Regions from separate parts of the Homo sapiens genome. Here regions 2 and 3 are each linked to region 1. Evidence: promoter capture Hi-C in 16 types of primary human blood cells and fetal thymus (Javierre and others, 2016). All regions are on one chromosome and are shown on one strand. The core of a region is centred on a gene start or on the middle of the fragment in contact, and the rest is flanking DNA. Distances in the headings are between cores, read along the strand shown. Region 1 holds the start of UBE2C (ubiquitin conjugating enzyme E2 C). Region 2 has its middle 13 kb from the start of MATN4. Region 3 holds the start of SDC4 (syndecan 4).

Evidence for each region. The method cuts DNA at HindIII sites, captures the fragments that hold promoters and counts their contacts. A CHiCAGO score of 5 or more calls a contact.
Region 2: a contact is called between a fragment that was not itself captured here and the fragment with the promoter of UBE2C in region 1, in 2 of 17 cell types (M0 macrophages and M1 macrophages). The highest score is 6.2, in M0 macrophages.
Region 3: a contact is called between the fragment with the promoter of SDC4 here and the fragment with the promoter of UBE2C in region 1, in 10 of 17 cell types (erythroblasts, M2 macrophages, M0 macrophages and 7 more). The highest score is 13.7, in erythroblasts.

What each region holds. Positions count from the first base shown.
Region 1 is chr20:45,810,082-45,814,726 of GRCh38, forward strand. UBE2C (ubiquitin conjugating enzyme E2 C) reads left to right here and starts at 2,563. Exons shown (of 6, transcript NM_007019.4): 1 at 2,563-2,715; 2 at 3,356-3,383; 3 at 4,303-4,389. The coding sequence starts at 2,615. DNTTIP1 (deoxynucleotidyltransferase terminal interacting protein 1) reads left to right here. Exons shown (of 13, transcript NM_052951.3): 12 at 804-859; 13 at 976-1,337. The coding sequence ends at 1,114. RefSeq lists an enhancer at 169-338 and a silencer at 2,366-2,555. The HindIII fragment of the contact is 3,801 bases long and covers 1-3,645 here.
Region 2 is chr20:45,318,888-45,323,532 of GRCh38, forward strand. It overlaps the pseudogene TRV-CAC14-1. Among named protein-coding and RNA genes, the nearest start is that of MATN4, 13 kb to the left of the region's middle. RefSeq lists an enhancer at 2,394-2,443. The HindIII fragment of the contact is 5,194 bases long and covers 1-4,415 here.
Region 3 is chr20:45,346,163-45,350,807 of GRCh38, forward strand. SDC4 (syndecan 4) reads right to left here and starts at 2,262. Exons shown (of 5, transcript NM_002999.4): 1 at 2,163-2,262. The coding sequence starts at 2,222. The HindIII fragment of the contact is 6,082 bases long and covers 1-3,781 here.

The sequences.
Region 1 (4,645 bases), core at 1,313-3,812:
ATGTTGGCAAATTCAGCTGTAGGCCCCACTCATGGACACCTGATCTGTTATGGTTCATAGTGCCCATAAGATGTAGACAAATTACTCAAGGAATACACAATTATTCCTGACCCTAACATTAGAAAGTCTCCCACAGAAGACTTTCTAATATGATGAATATCTCTTCCTATATGTTAAGTTCACAAAAGGGCCCTCACCCACTGTAGACCGAGGCATTGTGACAAAGCATTTCTACAGGCCCCAGTACAATACAGGCCAATTACTAGACAGCAGAGCAGTTTATCATGTTTTCCATTTTGCCACAAAGTTCAAAACCAAGTTATCTTTGTCCTCAGAGGGAGCACATGGTTTCCTCTTCCTGATTTCCTGTTTCCATATATATTTTGCTGGCTTTCTTGCCATTTTGTTATAACCCACCTTGGGTCCTTTCGTATACTTGATCTTAACCAAAAGGTGTAGGAGCAATGGTGGATCCCTTTTTTTTTCTTTTTTTCTTTTTTTTTTTTTTTTCTTAATTTTCACCACACCATTCAAGAGAGAAATGGGTCCTTTTTTAAAAGAGAAGGCTATAAATAAGTCACCAGTCCCTACTCTCCCATCCATGAAGCATCTACTGTAGTAAAAGATTGTCTCAAGGAACCATTCCCATCCCTCCCCACTTACTCTTCCGTACTAAATTGTAAACCGCATCCCCCGCTTCCACCTAGTAGCAGGCCTTACATTAAACAGATGTTTAATGAAGTGTTACTGAGTTGGAGTGAAATGAATCAGGCAATGACCACTCTCCCTTGCTCCTGCCTCAGGCCTACCTCCTCATCGAGGAGGACATCCGGGACCTTGCGGCCAGTGATGATTACAGGTAAAACCAGTGGGTCTCCTGCCCCTTCTCCTCTCCCTGCCTCCAAATAGCCCCTAGAATGAGGCAGGGCCTACATCCTCACTTCCCCCAACTTCTCTCTTCAATGTCTGTTCCAGAGGATGCCTGGATCTGAAGCTAGAGGAATTGAAATCCTTTGTCCTACCCTCCTGGATGGTGGAGAAGATGAGAAAGTATATGGAGACACTACGGACAGAGAATGAGCATCGTGCTGTTGAAGCACCTCCACAGACCTGAGGCCGGGTCCCCTGGCCACACTTGGCAGCCCTCCTCCAAAGCCCTCTTCCTCACGTGGCTGAGGCCACCGCTGGGACTGCTCCTAGATGGATCTCAGCGGCATTAAGCTGTGCCTGAGCGAGTTTGTAGTGACTCACTGCACAGCACCCCCAGACTAGCATGTGGTTCTATATTTGTAAAGTTATTGGGATAAGAAACAATTAAACAGTTTGTAGTAAACACAGATGGTGAACCTGCTGTGCCCTCTACCTTGTGGGAATTGACAGAACATCAAGGGCTCTAGAAGTGGGTGTAGGAAAAAAGGACGAGATAACCCTCACCCATAACAGTATAGAGCCAGGCTTGATAAGACCAACCTGGGAGCACCATGTACCCTGCCCGTCTTCCCTTTGCCCATTTGTAGTTTCCTTACCCAGCTAATGTAAGGACATGGCAGAATGCGATGGAGTTTGATGACAGATCATATGAAAAATAGAGTTGGCTTTTATTGCTCCCATTTTACAGGTTAAGATACTAAAGGACCCGCCCCAAGGTTACACACTACCCACTGGGGAGGTAGGATATACAGGATATGAACCTGTGTTGTTGGGGTTTTTGTTTGTTTGAAGACAGTCTTGCTCTGTTGCCCAGGCTAGAGTGCAGCCTCTGGCTCAAGCGATTCTCCCGCCTCAGCCTCGCCAGTAGCTGGGACTACAGGCTCGTGCCACCTCACCAGCCTTTTTTTTTTTTCTTTTCTTTTTTTTTTTTTTTCTTTTAAGTAGAGACAGGTCTCCCTATCCTGTTGCTCAGGCTGGTCTCGAACTCCTGGGTTCAAGTGATCCTCCTGCCTGGGCCTTCCAAAGTGTTCGGGATTACGGACGTGAGCCACTGCGACCAGCCTGAACCAATGTTGCCTTTTTTTATTTCTGTCATCTCTGCGGAGATGTATGGACCTATGTTTTCTAATAGGGAGCCTGCTGCTCTGGCCATCAGCCTTTAGTTTTTCCCCTCGCTGGGATTTTCAGATACTTAGGACGCAGCAAAGGTGCCCAGGCGATTATAATGGTGGGAGGGTACCAGTGCTGCAGGATTGGAGGCACTCCCTGCCCGAGGGAAATTGGATCAAGGCTGGGCGTGCCGAGTGTTCCCACGCGGAGTAAGACGTGTAGCCAGAAGGAGGGGTTCATCCCACGTGGACGTTTTCTTGGCCCTTTAATGGTTAGCGTTTTCCAACGGCCACCAATTCGCTACGGATTCGTTAGTTAATGGCAGCATCATCTACCAATCGGTTGTCAGAAGCGGGATTCTGCCGCCCAATAGCGGTGCGCCAGTGGGTAGGTCTAGCAGTGGCGCAGCAATAGAGCGCTCCGGAGCGTCTCATTGGCTGGATCAAACCCAAGCGAGCCATTGATTGGTCGACGCCCCCAGAGGGTTACAATTCAAACGCGGGCGGGCGGGCCCGCAGTCCTGCAGTTGCAGTCGTGTTCTCCGAGTTCCTGTCTCTCTGCCAACGCCGCCCGGATGGCTTCCCAAAACCGCGACCCAGCCGCCACTAGCGTCGCCGCCGCCCGTAAAGGAGCTGAGCCGAGCGGGGGCGCCGCCCGGGGTCCGGTGGGCAAAAGGTGAGTGATGCGGCCTACCACTCGCCGGGCCTGCCATGCCCTAGGCATTGGTACCCAGAGCAAAGATTTCTAGGACCACCCCCCGCCGCCACCTCCTGGAGCGGGAGATCTGCGGGTGCAGGAGAACACACCAGGAGCTCGGGGCCTGGCATTCCCCTGGGCATGGGTGTCGAGGGCGGAGACTTCCGGGACTCCCACCTCCTTGCGCGGGTGAGATTCGAGAGATGGGGGACAGGCCAGGAGCTCAGACCGCTCTTTGAGACTCTCCCGAAGGAGAATGGGAGGGTAGGGGCGCTGCCAGACTCCTTCCCTGGTGGGCCTAGATGAAGACGCTCAAGGACCCTCGTGACTTGGCCGAGACAGGGGAAGGGAGAAGTTGAGTCGGGCAAGGAAGAGATGCTAAAGCCTGGGGAATTAAGAACATGCCAGAATCATCCCGAGGGAGTCTGGAATTAGGGAGGGTGAGGACTCGCTAGGATCGTCCTGTGGATCTGGTGAGTATACCCTGAGCTGAGCCTGACCTTGGTGATGTGGGGAGCCTCCATGACGGCTCCCCCTGAGATTCAGGTGGGAGAAGATGCACCGTCTGGAGGCCTGGCCCATCCAGACTCCCAGGTAACCCCGAATACTCTTTTTTCAGGCTACAGCAGGAGCTGATGACCCTCATGGTGAGTGATTAAGTGCCCAGAACCCCAGCCTTCCATCCAATTTTCAGTAGCCTCCTTTTTTCCGTCAGCTTTTTTGCTAGACATAGGGGTAATGTAATTTGCTCCCTCCTGGGAAAGAAGTTCATACACCCCACCTACACCATTTCTTCCAGCAGTCCCTCCTCCCAATTCCATCCCCCCACACGAAGTTATCTCGAACACTTCCCTGAAGTCATACAAGACCCTCCCTATCCAGTGTGTCCCTACTTCCTAGCCCCAACCAAGCTTTACCCACACCCAACTCCCCGCCCTTCTTGGTATTTCTAGCCTATGAATTTGGTTGCTTTATTTTGGATCAGAGTGATGAGATTAAGGGGAGGCTGGGCGCGGTAGCTCACACCTTATAATCCCAACACTTTGGGGGGCTAAGGTGGGCGGATCACTTGAGGTCAGGAGTTCGAGACCAGCCTGGCCAACATTGCAAAACCCTGTCTCTACTAAAAATACAAAAATTATCCAGGCATGGTGGTGCATGCCTGTAATTTCAGCTACTCGGGAGGCTGAGGCACAAGAATCATTTGAACCGTGGAGACAGAGGTTGCGGTGAGCCGAGCGCACCACTGCACTCTAGCCTGGGCGACAGAGTGTGTGTGTGTGTCTGTCTCTGTCTATCTCTCTCTCTCAATCTCTCTCTCTCTCTCTCTATATATATATATATGTAAATATATATTTTTTAGTAGAGATGGCATAACCCCATCTATATCTCATATATATACACATATATATGTGTGTGTGTATACATATATATGTGTGTGTGTGTATGTGAGCATATATATATATATATATATATATATATAAAATTAAGGGGAAAGCTCACCCACTGACCTTTGCTATGCCCAAAAGTGTACTCCACATTCCAACAAATGTGTTTTCTCCCCAGATGTCTGGCGATAAAGGGATTTCTGCCTTCCCTGAATCAGACAACCTTTTCAAATGGGTAGGGACCATCCATGGAGCAGCTGGAACAGTAAGTGTAGGGCTGGGATGGGTGAGTGAGTCTGGGGAAAGGTGGGAAGTGAGATCCAAGTGCGAGCTCTGCTTCAAGCCTTTGGCGGAGCAAGACACTCCTCCTGTGACTGTTTACATTCTCTGAGCCATGTGGCCTTGTTCTTTCCCTCTGTGCAATAAAGGGTGGGTTTAAAGCAGGGCTGCCTATCTTAGATGTTTACATGGGGGGACAGACAGCAAGGAAATGGATGAAGTGAGGACTTTGGCCAATAGGG
Region 2 (4,645 bases), core at 569-3,068, 490 kb before region 1:
CAAAAGCCCAGACCCAGCCATACAGCTCTGTCTTAGTCCTCACCCATCTCAGGGGATCCTATAACCTTTGGTGTCCCCAAGGTATCCATCTGGAAGTCTGTGACCAAAGCTCCAGCCCTGGCCTAGCTTCTGAGTTCCAGCTGCTGAAACTGTCCTTGGAGGTCTTCCTTGCACTGAGTCTGAAGCCATCTAACATCAAACTCCTTTCCCTCTCCACCTGCCTTGCAGCACCACCTCTAGCTCCTTCCCCCACACCACCCAGTCACCCAGGCCTAAGGATCCCACCCCCACTTCCACACTACCATATGCCTCCTGTTTTCCTCTCCCTCCACTACTGCCCTGCCAGGTCCTGTGTCGCCTCTTCCAAAATTTCCCAAACTACTCTAGGTAGAACTAGCTATATAATTTGTGGGCCCCAGTGCAAAATGGCCCGTTGTTCAAAAATTATTCAAGAATTTCAATTCGACTGAACACGGGATTAAAAAAAAAAAAAGAACTTCAAGACAGCCACAGGAAATGATGAAACCAAGTGCAGGGGCCTTCCAAGCACAGGCTGCACAACCACGAAGCCAGCCCTGGCCCCAGGCTTTTTTCTTGTATTCCCACAGACCCTCAATGGGACCATATCGACTGCCTGCTTTGGATCAAAGGTTTTACCTACATGCCCATTGTCTCCTCTAGGCTGCCATCTTCATGGGGAAAGGAGCTCTTATCTCTGCATGTCCTAAAGGGTGCATCACAATGCCTCGCATGTTGAGTTGGTGCTCAATAAACAGTGAATTGCATTATATGGCATTGGCAGATATTTAGATATTGCTAATGCAAAGTGAAACCGGCAGGTGGCACTGTTCTCCACCCGAGCATTAAGTTCTCATTTTATTTATATTTAAAAACCGGGCCTTAATCCCAGCCCTTTGGTAGGCCGAGGCGCAAGGATCACTTAAGCCCAGGAGTTCGAGACCACCCTGGGCAACATAACAAGACCCCCTCCCCCATCTCTACAAAAAAATGTAAAAATAGGGCCGGGCGCAGTGGCTCACGCCTGTAATCCCAGCACTTTGGGAGGCCGAGGCGGGCGGATCACGAGGTCAGGAGATAAGAGACCAACCTGGCTAACCCGGTGAAACCCCGTCTCTACCAAAAAATACAAAAAATTAGCCAGGCGTGGTGGCGGGCGACTGTAGTCCCAGCTACTTGGGAGGCTGAGGCAGGAGAATGGCGTGAACCCGGGAGGCGGAGCTTGCAGTGAGCCGAGATCGTGCCACTGCACTCCAGCCTGGGGGACAGAGTGAGACTCCGTCTCAAAAAAATAAAAAAATAATAATAATAATTAGCCGGTGTGGTGGTGCACGCCTGTAGTCCCAGCTATGGGGTGGGGGCGGGGGGATGCTGAGGAGGGAGGATCACTGGAGCACAGGTAGTGGAAGCTGCAGTGAGCTGTGATTGTGCCACTACACTCCAGCCTGGGTGACAGAGGGAGACCCTTTGGGGGTTTATGCACAGAATTCTACATACTTCCAGGGAATTTCCTAACACTAAAACCCATTTATGGATTAATTTAGTCCTCTTTATATTAGAATCATTTGCCACGCTATAAAAATTAATATACCGGGCCGGGCGCAGTGGCTCACGCCTGTAATCCCAGCACTTTGGGAGGTCGAGGTGGGTGGATCACCTGAGGTCAGGAGTTTGAGACCAGCCTGGCCAACATGGTGAAACCCTGTCTCTACTAAAAATTCAAAACATTAGCCAGGCGTGGTGGCGTGTGCCTGTAATCCCAGCTACTCAGGAGGCTGAGGCAGGAGAATTGCTTGAACCCAGGAGGCAGAGGCTGCAGCGAACTGAGATCACGCCACTGCACTCCAGCCTAGGGTCTCTCCAGCAGAGTGAAACTCCGTCTCAAAAAAAAAAATAATACTAATAATATACCGGCCACGCCATGGAACAATTCTATTAACATCTCTGAGTGTGGAGCTCAGGCATCTGTATTGTTTGAAACCCTCCCATGTGAATCTAGTGAGCAGCCAGGGTTAAGAATCATGGCCCTAGTCAGTATTTCCTCCTCATTTTATAGATGGGGAAACTGAGGCTCCAAGAGAGGAGGCTAAGGTCACAGCAGATGGCAAAGCCTACAATTGATTCAAATCCTGCACTCCTACCACTAAATCTGGGGCTCTGAGTTTCTCTTCATTCTCATTCTACCACGCTGCTGTGTGTAGGTGACATGTGTGTTGCAGAGGGTGGGGATGGGGCATGTAGTGAGGATAAGGCCCAAATCTCCAATTTACCAGCTCTCATGCTGCCTGGTGTTCCACCATTATTAACAAGCTAGTTCCCCAGTAAGTACCGACCTTGGGGTTTCTCTCTCTTTCTTTCTTTCTTTTTTTTTTTTAACTTCTATTAAGTTATAACCACAGCATAGGTAAAATTCTCTGACAGCTTCCCCCTGGGTAGGGCACAGACCTGTGAAGATGGCAAGGGAAAGAGGAAGTGGTTTTAAGGGAAGTGAAACCCATAATACATCTATAAGGTTGTGGCCAGGCATGGTGGCTCACACTTGTAATCCTAGCACTTTGGGAGGCCGAGCCAGGCAGATCACTTCAGATCACTTGAGGTCAGGAGTTCCAGACCAGCCTGGCCAACATGGTAAAACCCCGTCTCTACTAAAAATACAAAAATAGGCTGGGCACGGTGGCTCACACCTGTAATCCCAGCTACTTGGGAGACTGGGACAGAAGAATCGCTTGAACCCAGGAGGCGAAAGTTGCAGTGAGCTGAGATCACGCCACTGCACTCCAGCTTGGGTGACAACAAGACTCTGTCTCAAAAAATAAAAAATACAAAATGTAGCCAGACGTGGTGGCGTGCACCTGTAGTCCCAGCTACTTGGGTGGCTGAGGCACAAGAATCGCTTGCACCTAGGAGGCAGAGGTTGCAGTGAGCCGAGATTGTGCCACTGCACTCCAGCCTGGGCAACAGAGCGAGACTGTCTAAAAAAAGAAAAACAAACAAACAAAACCATCTATAAGGTTTTGCCACAGACCAGCTCAGAACAGCCTCCTAGACAGGCTTGGCCCTGTTCCAGACCCTAAGGGACAAAGGCAGGCAGGGTAGCAGTGGCACAATAATGCATTTAGAGGGCAAAGTGATAAACCCCCACTACAGCTGGCTGCTTGCCACCAGATGGGCACTTTCACCTTTGCTATCTAATGTAAACTAATCATAAACCTTGTGGCATCCCATCATATTTACAGGTCCTCAAGGAGAGAGAATTATACAGGTTGTATATATAGGGCAGAAATCTTGCAGGCCATCTTAGAATTCTGTCTACTCCCCAAACAACATAGCAAATCATAAGTAGGGGAGATGTGTTTCACTTGTAGGCCTTCCCACACCCCATGCAGGCATTGTCCCATGGTTTTGCTACCTCTGAAGATTGGCAAGATCATGAACAAAAAGTGGGCCCATGCCTGGCTTCTGTAATGTAGTGGTTATCACATTCGCCTCACACATGAAAGGTCACCAGTTTGAGACCGGGCCAAAACACGAGATTTTCCCCCTAAATTTAGTGAGTTTAATCGAGGTTGGAAACAAACAGAAAACTAGTTAAACCTGTGCCTACATTTTGGCCGGGTGTGGTGGCTCATGCCTGTAATCCCAACACTTTGGGAGGCCGAGGTGGGCGGATCGCATGAGATCAGGAGTTTGAGACCAGCCTGGACAACATGGTGAAACCCTGTCTCTACTAAAAATACAAAAATTAGCCAGGCATTGTGGCACATGCCTGTAATCTCAGCTACTTGGGAGGCTGAGGCAGGAGAATCACTTGAACCTGGGAGGCAGAGATAGCAGTGAGCTGAGATCATACCATGGCACTCCAGCCTGGGCGACAGAGTGAGACTCCACCTCAAAAAATTAAAAAACAAAAAGTGGACCAATAGTGTCCAAAATCCATTTTGCATCCACTGCCCAATTCTCAGAAATATTATATATTATCAGAAATAACCAGAGTTGGCTCTCCAGACAGATAAAGCCCTAGTCGAGGTTGACCACTGATGGGGCTATGTCTGCCAGCATTTAGGATGGCTTCCAATGAGTCTTGTATCCAGGTGCTCCTGCCCCTGGGTGGTCTCCTGTCACAATGAATAGGGCTGACCCATGTGACCCATGCAATATTATGGAAGAGATAGTGGGTGACTTCCAAGCTAAGTCATAAAAGTCACTGTAGCTTCCACTTGGTGGCTCTCTTGGATCGCTTGTTCTGAGAGAAACCAGCTGCCGCATCACGAGGACTGTCAATCAGCTCTATGTGGGTCCACGCAATGAGGAACTGAGGCCTCCTGCCAAAATAGCCAGCACCAAGTTGTCAGAAATGTAACTGAGCCATCTTGGAAGTGGATCCTCCAGCCCAGTCAAGCTTTCAGATGACAGCAAGACCTGGCCAACGTCGACTGCAACCTCACAAGATGGAGCCAGAATCGCCCAGCTAATGCTCCTGACTTCTGACTCACAGAAACAATGTGAGATAATATTTATGTTGTTATAAGCCCCTAAGTTTGGGGGTAATTTTAAATATCAATAGATAATATGGGGGTCTTCTTTTTTTTTTTTTCTTTTTGAGATGGAGTCTCGCTCTGTCGCCCAG
Region 3 (4,645 bases), core at 1,012-3,511, 460 kb before region 1:
TCTCTACCTGCAAAAAGAAAAGGACACGCTGGATCATCTCTTCAGTCCGAGCCAACCGTGACTATGTCTGATTTTTCCAACCACAATCTAGAAAAGAGGGAGGGGACAGGCCAAAGGGGAAGCCCTGTGCCCCAGTTACAGGCAGGAGGTCTGTGACATTAGCCAGGAAGGGGAGAGCTGAGGTCAGGATGAGACTTGACACCTATCTCAGGAAGCAGCTGCCCAGGGCTGATGTCTCCTGCAGCTGATGGGTCACCCAGGCAGGACTGACACAGTCCCCTTCCCCCAAACTACATCCTTCAGAATGCCCCCAGGACACAGCTGACTGCTCAGCACCCTGAAGCACCTGAAGGCTCAGCAGCCCCTGGGAGGAAACTGGCATGTGACTGGGCACACGGTGACCTCAGCAACCTCCTGGGTCCTTTCCTCTTTTTCCCTGTACTGCCTAGGTGGTATCCCTTCGGATGCTTCCCCAGTTGCTTGACCCGACACATCCTTCAGGGCCTAGTTTAGAGCACTGTGCTAGAGGCAGAAGGCTTGGGTCCTCAGCCACTAACATTTTAGGCAAGGTAGCCTTTGGTTTAGGTTAAGTCATCACCTCACTCTGGCCTTGTTTCCTTCCACCTCAGAATTCCTTTGCCTTCCAGCCTAAAATCTCAACCTATTCTAAACCCGTCTTTAGTTACCAACGATGGGACACCTGGAGTAGCACAAAGAGTAGAAGTTAAGCTAAAGCAGAAACTTGAAAGCCTGGCTGCCTAAATTTCAATCTGACTCACCCATTTATTGTGTATTAACTGTGTGACCCTGGGCAAGTTACTTAACCTCTCTAGCCTCAGGACCAGTTTAAGAACAGTACACAGTAAGATTGTTGTTGGAATTAAGCTCCTGGATATACCCATTAGAAAGTTATTAGAGCAATGTCTGGCCCCCCGACAAAGGCGCTCCACGTTTGCAATCATCATGGCATGCCTGGAATTGTGCTGGAAGTATTGCCTAGGGTCTCATTCATTCCTCAAGAAGAGCCTGCAGGCAGAATCAACCTTCCGCTAAGTAAATTCAGAGGAACAGGAGCCCCAAGGCTTTCAAAGAAATTAACATTAATGGTTAAACTGCAAGGACTCACTCGCTCTGAAAACTGGGGCTAAAGGGCACAAAGGGGGCACAAAGCTCAGGCTGTGGGGGACAGATTGCCTTCACCAGTAATTCCCATGCCCCCCAACTTCCCAGATGAGATTGCCCCCCTCCTCCTAAGCCGGCTGCGGGCATGGATAGAGCTTCTGCTGGCCCAGGGACAGCTATGACGGAGGCCAGTGGACAGTGAGAAGGAAAGGTTTCCCTGGGCTGATTGAGGCCTTCTCTCCCCCCTACCCCCTTCACCTCACTCAAGGTGGATGCTTCAATTTTCTTATCTGCAATTGAGAAAAAATGAACACACTTCTTGCAGAAAGCAGAGGCTCAGCTCCTGGCTAAGTGTTGAGTCTAAACCATTCCTCTCCTCTGTCCTCGAAAAGAGCAGAGTCCCCAACTTTCTAGAAACCCTAACGCAGTGTCCCCTCTTGCCCCATTCCCTCAGACCCTTGGTGCAGTATTGGGAAGAGATTCAGAAGGGCAGGACTTTGCCCTAAGTCACAAGTCAATGACAGAGCTGGGGCCAGAACTGAGGTTAGGGCTCAGTTCTCCTTGGTGTGTGAAAGAGGGCCTCGCACAACCCTAAAACCCTCCCCCTTCCGAGTACACGCAGCCCCCCGACCCCCAGGGCCATCTCGGATCCTAAAGCTGTCTGCTCTGGGCGCCCCGAGAGCGAGGAGGGGATTCAGCGCTCCAAGCCTGCCCCAGGGTCACCAGGGAAGGGACGAGGGTGTGGGAGTTGAAGAGTTGACACCGGCTTAGTCACTAACGAGCCCGTAGCCCGCGGCGGGGCTGAGGCCCGGGGAGGCGGGAAGAGCAACAGGCGAGGGGCGCACGGCGCGTGAAGCCATCCCGGAGGCTGGCCCGTGACCCCGGAGCAAAGTTTCCAACAAAGTTTCCCGGGCCTCGGTGTCCGGTTGGGGGTAGCGTACCCCCGATCTGCCCCCCCCCATCCCACGCTCCGACGAACAAAGGAGGCACCGGCCTGCGCCCCCGCTTCGCCCCCAGCCCGGGAACCTCCAAGCACCCACCGACTCGGCGACTCCGCCTACGAAGAACAGCAGCAGCGCGAACAGACGGGCGGGGGCCATGGCACCGCGGACTGGAGAAGGCGCGCAGGCTGCGGCGAGTGGCCCCGGGCGGGCGCGCCACCCATCTTATAGGCGGCCTACCGGCCCCGCCCCGGCCCGCCCCCGCCCCGCCGCCCGCACCCCGCCCGGAATTCCCCAGTGGAAGCGAGGCCTGCGGGGCACTGCGCCCGCCCGCGGAGTTGGAAACCCCAAGGGACCCGCCCTGCCCGAGCCCGCCGGCTCCTACTCAACCCCTAGTCCTACCCTCCGGGAGCTCCAACTCCCTTTATTTATTTGACCCACTGCCAGGCAGGTCCCCAGAGATCACTGCGGCTAACCCCATTTTATAGTTGGGGAAACTAAGGCCCAGGGACGGGAAGGACTTCCCTAGGGTGTTGAGTTTAGACCAGCCTTCATACCGGGTGTGCTCCCCTCTGAAGACACAGAACTTCCCAAATGGGATGTGAACCGTGTTAAGACAGGGGACAGCAAACTATTCTGTAAAGGGCTAAATATTTTAGGTTTTGCGGGCCATACGATCCCTGTGGCAACTATTCAAACTCGAGCGTCGTAGCTCAAAAGCAGCCATAAATACTAAAGGAATGAGGGCAGCTAGGTCCTAATAAAACATTATTTATAGACACCGACATTTGAATTTAATATAATTTTCATGTGTCACGAAATATTATTATTCTTTTGACTTTATTCCCAACCATTTAAACATGCAAAAATCGGCTGGGCTCTATGGCTCACGCCTGTAATCCCAGCACTTTGGGAGGCCGAGGAATAGGAGGATCCCTTGAGCCCAGGAATTGGAGACCAGCCTGGGCAACCATAATGAGACCCCCATCTCTACAAAAAGTTTTTAAAGAAATTAACCAGGCATTGTGGTGCACCCCTGTGGCCCAGCTACTCTGGAGGCTGAGGTGGGAGGACTGCTTGAGCCAGAGAGGTGAAAGTTGCAGTGAGCCATGATCGCTCACTGCACTCCAGCCTGGGTGACCGAGTGAGACCCTGTCTCAAAAATAAATAAATAAATAAATAAATAAATAAATAAATAAATAAATGACATTTTATAATAAAAATGCAGGCCGGATGCAGTGAGTCATGCCTGTAATCCCAGCACTTTGGGAGGCTGAGGCGGCGGATCACTTGAGCTCAGGAGTTTGAGACCAGCCTGGCCAACATGCTGAAACCCCGTCTCTACAAAATACAAAAATTATCCAGGCATGGTTGCCTGCGCCTGTAATCCCAACTGCTCTGGAGGCTGAGGCAGGAGAATCGTTTGAACCCGAGGGGCGGAGGTTGCAGTGAACTGAGATCTCCCCACTGCACTCCAGCCTGGGCAACAGAGCAAAACTCCGTCTCAAAAAAATAAAAAATAAAAATGCAAAAACCATTCTTAGCAGTGGGCTGAACAAAAATAGGCGGTGGGCCTCAGCCACTCTGAGACCACTCTGACGCTGGTCTCAGAGTGGCTGACGTCTGTTCTAAGGGCTTCATCTACCAGATTTTGAACTTTTTCAAAAGTTTGATCTCTCTGAGAACTGGTCTGCAAGTTTATTTCCATTCTTAGGGTAAGCTTCCACCCTTTATAAGAGAAAGTTGTGTGTCCTCCTTACCCTTCATCCTCCTAACAGTGCATTGGTGGGAGCAGGTTGAGGGAAGAAGTGGAGGGGGGTGCTATATGGAGACTGTAAAATTCTCTGGGTCCCCAAGCACACGTACTGTTGGAATTATTGCAGGGTGTGAAGGTGGGCATTCTACGATGATCGAAGTACAAAAGAAGCCTAACCCTGTCTCTCCCTGACTTATGTATAAATCTTTCTAAGGGTGTAACATAGCCTTAGAAGTAGGACATTTTGGCCACTGTTGGCATATTATGAATTCATATACTTTGTGGAGTGGAGAATTGGTAGTGACTTCCCTTTTTCCACCTCTTAATTATTATCAAAGAATAAAAGTCTCTTGTGGCAGAGAACCTTGGCAGTAAAGCAAACTTCAAATGCTGACCACGGGGTTTCCACAGATTTAAAGGTAAGCAATGACTTTCAGTGGTTTTTAACATGCTTCCCTAGGATTTGGAACAAAACTGAGAAAATGAAGAAATCTCATGCCAGAATAAGAAATCCTTTTGCAAGTTAAATGGTTTGCAATCTTTGCTTTCCACAAAATTGCAGGGGGGCCTAATCTAGTTGTCAGTAGATAGATCATTAAATATAGAATAGGTAACTGTGATTTTAGTTATCTATTGTCACACTGTTGTAACAAGAGTTCTTCTGTTCCTACCAACTTTTATAAGTTTCTCAGCACTTACAGCCAGTGGTGTGCCAGTAAATGTTTGACAATTGGCTAGGGGAAGTGGCGAGTGCTAATTTGCCAATTTCTGTAGTGTAAATACTACCAGCATGGCTGATTTCAAGCTACCAATGAGATGTCACTGA